Linked DNA regions of Homo sapiens: region 1 is linked to region 2. Evidence: promoter capture Hi-C in 16 types of primary human blood cells and fetal thymus (Javierre and others, 2016). All regions are on one chromosome and are shown on one strand. Each heading gives the region's core, a stretch centred on a gene start or on the middle of the fragment in contact. The rest is flanking DNA. Distances are from core to core; before and after follow the strand shown. Region 1 overlaps HYAL4 (hyaluronidase 4). Region 2 holds the start of NDUFA5 (NADH:ubiquinone oxidoreductase subunit A5).

Region 1 (3,087 bases), core at 150-2,649, 310 kb before region 2:
GAGGGTGGATCACCTGAGGTCAGGAGTTCAAGGCCAGCCTGTCCAACATGGTGAAACCCCGTCTTTACTAAAAGTACAAAAATTAGCTGGGTGGGGGGGGGTGAGCACCTGTAAACCCAGCTACTTGGGAGGCTGAGGCAGGAGAATCGCTTGAACCCAGGAGGTGGGGGGTGCAGTGAGCCGAGATTGCATCATTACACTCCAGCCTAGGTGACAAGAACAAAAAACTCCATCTTGAAGAAAAAAAAAAAACAAAACAAAGATTAAAATACCCACTACTTTCCCTAGAATTTTTTTGTTTAAGTGGCTAGACAATTCTGCTTCCACATGTATGAGCAAACACTCCATTTCAAAACATCCTTTTTGATTGTCTAACCTGCTCACTGCCGATCATTTCAATAACCTTCCAAAATGCCCGATTGTAAGTGAGTACAGTTAAAGTTGGTGTGCAGGAAATGTAGTCGTTGCTGGTATCTACTTTAACCCTTTCTCACCTTACTTTGTTCCTTAAGAGAATAATAATGAGTAAGATAATCAAAATTCAGTTTCCATAAATGAAGAGTCTAAATGCATGACTAGTCAAGGAAGAATTATGCTCCCATATAACAAACCATTAATTGAAATCAATTCTTCAAAGAACATAATTAACAAAGAAATGTCCTTTTAGAGATAAGGAGGAAATCCCCCACCATTGGACAAGAAGCTTCTTACCTTAGAAAGGAAAAATAAAGGTTCATCTCTGTACCCTAGCCTTGTGTAGACAAATACAGGCAGAGCATAATCATGAGATGTCATGGTGGAGATCCTCATGGATTCATGCACCCGAAATTTGGAGAAGCGCAAAATGTTTTCACTGTCTCCAAGGGATTTCCAGACACCGATAGAAGGATATAAAGCAGCACTGCTGTTCCAGAGCCAAGAGAGCTCATTGTTCCTCAAGACTTCGTCTTCTGGGCATGACCCAGAGTAGTTTGGGGCATAAACGTTATAATTGTGGCAATCAGGATATAAATAATAACCCCAAAGGCCTTTGGGTCGGCTCTTAATTCCCAATTTGATGGTTTCCTTCATGAAAGCTTTTGCACTTTCTTCAAAGGTCACTTTGGCTAAATATTCAATATCGGTAGCTGATACATTCTTTCCCATATCGGAAATAAGCTTTCTTGACTTCTGTCTGTAAACATCTTTTGAGTTCCAGTTCCGGGCCCACTGTGGTCGCCAATATTCCCAATCTATAACAGCAAGTCCACTGAAATCTTCAGCAGGGATGTAATAATTAATATCTTGGTCAGCTTTTTCCAGATGTACTTGTAAACTTATGTTCTGTGGGAGACCTCCATTAATGGGGACCCCTTGTGATGTATACCACGGATAGTATCCCAATCTGTTGACATAAAATATAGTGACATTTTGCCCCCTGGCCTTGGCCAGTGGGCTTCCAATCACAGGAAACATTTTCAAATTTAGTCTTAAATTATATTTTATCAAACACTGATCTGTTGGAGCATTCCAAGCAGCTATAAAAGGTTTCCTTTGATAAATTGGAAGTCGAGCAGGTTTTAGACAAGAGATAGACTTTAGAATAAAAAATATAAGGAGCCATGAAGTGAGATGTACTGGTTGAACAACACAAAGCTTTAACTGTCCTTCAGATAATACTTTCATGGTAAGATAAAAATGTTACGTTATCTTCTGCTTTAGTGCACTCTAGAAGACCTGTGGAGAGATTTAATTTTCTGTTAGTCATAGTTTTGAGGAAAAAGACTCAAATAATAAATAGATATTATTATTATATATGACTATTTGTAAAGTGTATCACTTAAAGGTCTCAAAGAGGCCTATAAATAAATTGAGATATAGAAGCATATGTAGAGACCTAGCTTCTATTCAGGGGCAGGAAATGCAATTCAACAAACATTCATGGAGCACCAGACCCCATGTCCAGAAAACAAAATGAATAAGATGTAGTCCTTGCCTTTAAGGAGTTCATGATCAGATAAAGATGTGAAATAATATTTACCATCATTTTGCAAAACTCATCAAATCCCAGGCATTGTGCTTAACTGCTTTGTAAATATTTTTTTTAAACTTGTAATAACTACATAAGGCTTATAATTACATTTCCATTTTACAAATGGGGAAACTGAGGCTTAGAGAGATGAAAAGGCTTGCCTGATGTCACTTTATATGGAAGGCAAGGTGATGTAAAATTTAAATAATAAAAATGCATAACAAGTACTACATGATAATTTATTGGAGCAATTACTTCTTGGAGTAAGCAGTAGGTAGGAATGGAAAGGAAAGTGATTTGAGTGGCAAGAAATTAAAACCAGCCCAACTATCCCAAAGAATAGATGTTTTGGGTTTCTTCTGAATAAACTTAGAAATTGACCCTCCCAGGGTAAAACTTAAGAAAGTTATATTTGTCTTATCTGGGTTCCTTTCTCGGTAAACCAACCATCAAGCCTCCCAGAATGTTTCAAGGAACTGAAACTTACCAGATTATCACATCTAAACAATGAGACACCAGATGCCTCACTCATCATGATTGCCTAACTGACCACTTGCCTGTTGACCAAGTCCTCTTTCTTACCCTTCCTTAATTCCTGTTTTCCCACACATAGTTACTTTTCTTCCCTACTTTATAGACCCCAAATTTTAGTTGCTTGGGGAGATGGATTCCAGACTGATCCTTTATTCTCCTTGGCTGCAGCACCCAAATAAGGCCTTCTTCCCCAGCAATACTCCTTGACTCAGTGATTGGCTTTCTCTGCAGCAAGCAACAGGACCTAGACCAAACCCCTGGTGTAACAGAATGTCTCAGGGAAGACACTGGAGTTAAAAGAGAAGATAGAGCCAGGCAGGGTGGCTCACGCCTATAATCCCAGCACTTTGGTGAGGCCGAGATGGTCACAAGGTCAAGAGATCAAGACCATCCTGGCCAACATGGGGAAACCCCATCTCTACCAAAAATACAAAAATTAGCTTGGCGTGGTGGCACATGCCTGTAGTCCCAGCTACTGAGGAGGCTGAGGCAGGAGAATCGCTTCAACCTGGGAGGTGGCGGTTGCAGTGAACCAAGATCAC
Region 2 (2,942 bases), core at 172-2,671:
GTTTGTGTTTTTCTAGGAATCTGGCCATTTTATCTACTTTATCTTTTTTAAGCATAGTTGTTCATAGTATTCCTTCTTATTCCTGTTTATTTCAGCAAGGCTATTAGTGATGGTTCTTTTATTCTTGCTTGTATTAAATCTTCTCTCTTTTTTTTCTTAGTTTCACTAAAGGTTTGCCAATTTTGTTGATCCTTTTAGGGAACCAATTCCTGGTTTCATTGATTTTCTTTATTGATATTCTGTCTCCTTCTTTTCTAATCTTTAATATTTCCTTTCTTCTGTTTGCTTTTGGTTTAGCTTTCATTTTTTCTAGTCTCATGCCTCTAATGAAAGGCCTCATCTCTTCCAACTCATTCTCTTCAACTGTTGCCTAAGTTGTTTGTATATCTGAAACATAAATTTGATGGTGTCACTTAGAAGCTTAAAAGTCTTCTCATTGTTCCCATTCCTTAAAAAGTAAAATTCAAATTTTGTATAATGGCAAACAACACCTTTCATAATCTTAACCAGTTTACCTTAACAATCAAACCCACCTTTCCAATCACATAAAATCACCTGGAATTTATATATACATTTTTAACCTCTTTTCCTTTGTACTTGTGTTTTCTCAATTTGTTCTTTTCTCCTACTGACTTTTTAGAAAGTCACCCACGCTTTTTAGTTATTTCCTTTTCCCTGGTACCATCACACTTTGCATCAACTTCTTTTAGAACAGTTACCAAATTATTTATTAATACACGCCTTCTTCATTATTCTTTGAATTCCAGGATGTGAAATCCCATTTTAGAAATTATGTCCCAGTAACTGACACATAGTGAGTGGTCAGTGTTTGTGGAGGTAGGAAAAAGTGGTATGGTCTGATATCATTTCATCTGGAAATAAGATGATGTATTTCAGCCAGTGAAATCGAAAAGAGCGATGGAAAATGACCTCACACTCCATAGGGCTTTGGTTCGTAAGACACAGAGAATACTGATATCCTTGTGCGAAGAACTAACTTGCTGTTGAGAGATCAATTCAGAGGATGCTCAAGCTCCGTTATCACTTTCATTTTACTAAACTGAGAAAGGAAGGTTGAGGAATGCATCAACGGTTAAGCACAGTGCAGGTTCCTACAGCGACTGGAGTTTTTTGGTAGTTGGGAGTGTTTCCCTCAATCTTTGGGCAAGCCGTCAGCAGTGGCAGGAACAGGAACAGACAGCTGGGAAACCCTTTCTTTCCCCAATCGTCTTCTAGCTTAGCTTTAGGCTTGTATGCCCATCGCGCATGCGTCAATTTTTCTCTTTTAAGATGGGCGGGGCAGAGTCTTTGCTCCTTTGGCGATCCTGAAGGGGTGGAGCTAAGCTGTTTCCAGGGTGACAGAGTGGCGACCTCGGTGGTCGATTGAGCAGGTCTGAGAATTGTTCCCAAAGGGTTGTGCGTCACCGAGTCGTTGGCGCTGTCATGGCGGGTGTGCTGAAGAAGGTGAGACGAATGGAGGTCACTGTTGGAATTTAGACTGTGGGGGTAGACTCAGTCCGATAGCCCTACTTCCCGCGGGTGTTGACCCCTACTGTCGCGGGCTCGGCGGTGCTTTTCGGGGACTCGTTCTGCATGCCTTACCGGGTAGGGCAGGTTAGTGGTTCCGCTCCGAGAGTCAGGAAAAAAGCTCCAAACAAGCGAGACTGAGAGACCAGTAGCTGGCTTTAGACCAGTTTTAGCCGGGGGATTCGTGGTTTTGTATTTCCTTAGCGTGCTGGATGTATGGAAACCGTAGTAAACAGCATGAATCGTGTTTTGTTTTTGAACAGACCACTGGCCTTGTGGGATTGGCTGTGTGCAATACTCCTCACGAGGTATGTACCTTTGTTCTTTCTTCGTTCTTGAATTCCCAAGGAAGACTAAATTCCTGTCACTTTGCTTATTGCAGGGTTAACGGGATACAGATGTTTCAAGCCCTTAATTACAAGCCGCGTGAGCTCTTGAGACACGGGCGCTGTCCACCTACTTCGTTGATCCGATGTCACATTTTTATTTATTTTTGCCATGACCTCTTTATTAAGCCAGTTTTCTTGTTGACTTTTTCCTTGACATTTTCATGGCTTCACTTGTGCTTGCTTCTGTCAGCGCCATCTCAAATTTATATCTCCGTTTTCCATCTTTTCTCCTTGCCTTACCGTTTCTGCTTAGGTGCGTTGGATTACATATATTTAGGCTTACTAAAGGTACTGCCCCCTTTTCCTTCTGTTAGGTCTTTTCCATCTGTATTCACGAATGTTTTCATCAAAAAAACCCACAAAATTTTTTTATTCTTCTTGTCCCTTCTATAATCACACCATTTCTTTGCTTCACTTTACAGATAACTCAAAAGAGTTATCTCTATTTTCTCCAATTTCTTTCTTATTCACCCTTGAATGCACTCAGTCACCCTTGGCGTTTTTCAAGTTCACCAATTATCTCCATGCTGCCAAATCCAATGGTCAGCTCATATTTCTCACCTTCATTGACCTAATAGCAGCGTTTTTTGACACATTTGACACTTTTTCCATCACGCTCTTTTCAAGTTCACCAGTTATCTCCATGTTGCCAAATCCAATGGTCAGCTTATGTTTCTCACCTTCATTGACCTAATAGCAGCGTTTTTTTTTTTTTGACACATTTGACACTTTTTCCATCATGCGCTTTCTTTACTGGGCTTCAGGACTCCCCCAGTCTCCTGATTTTTTCCCCCTACTCTTTGGCTTTCTCTTTTTCTGGTTATTTCTCTTATGCCCACTTTTAAAATTTGAGTTAGTCAGGATTTAGTTCTTGGACCTTTTCTTTTGGACCTGTACTCTGTCACCAAGAGAGAGCAAATCCAAATAGAGAACGGTTTTAAATACCACCTATACACTGACAACAGATTTCCATGTAAAGCACTGACCTCTTCCTTTATAAAAGTCCTGAATATTTAATTGCTTAGT

Evidence for each region. The method cuts DNA at HindIII sites, captures the fragments that hold promoters and counts their contacts. A CHiCAGO score of 5 or more calls a contact.
Region 1: a contact is called between a fragment that was not itself captured here and the fragment with the promoter of NDUFA5 in region 2, in 1 of 17 cell types (M2 macrophages). The highest score is 8.5, in M2 macrophages.

The regions. Positions count from the first base shown.
Region 1 is chr7:123,866,852-123,869,938 of GRCh38, reverse strand. HYAL4 (hyaluronidase 4) reads right to left here. Exons shown (of 5, transcript NM_012269.3): 3 at 712-1,716. The coding sequence starts at 1,665. Among named protein-coding and RNA genes, the nearest start is that of HYAL4, 23 kb to the right of the region's middle. The HindIII fragment of the contact is 477 bases long and covers 1,161-1,637 here.
Region 2 is chr7:123,556,297-123,559,238 of GRCh38, reverse strand. NDUFA5 (NADH:ubiquinone oxidoreductase subunit A5) reads left to right here and starts at 1,421. Exons shown (of 5, transcript NM_005000.5): 1 at 1,421-1,464; 2 at 1,791-1,835. The coding sequence starts at 1,444. RefSeq lists enhancers at 944-1,083, 1,344-1,393, 1,134-1,712, 949-2,148, 1,713-2,291. The HindIII fragment of the contact is 10,047 bases long and covers 423-2,942 here.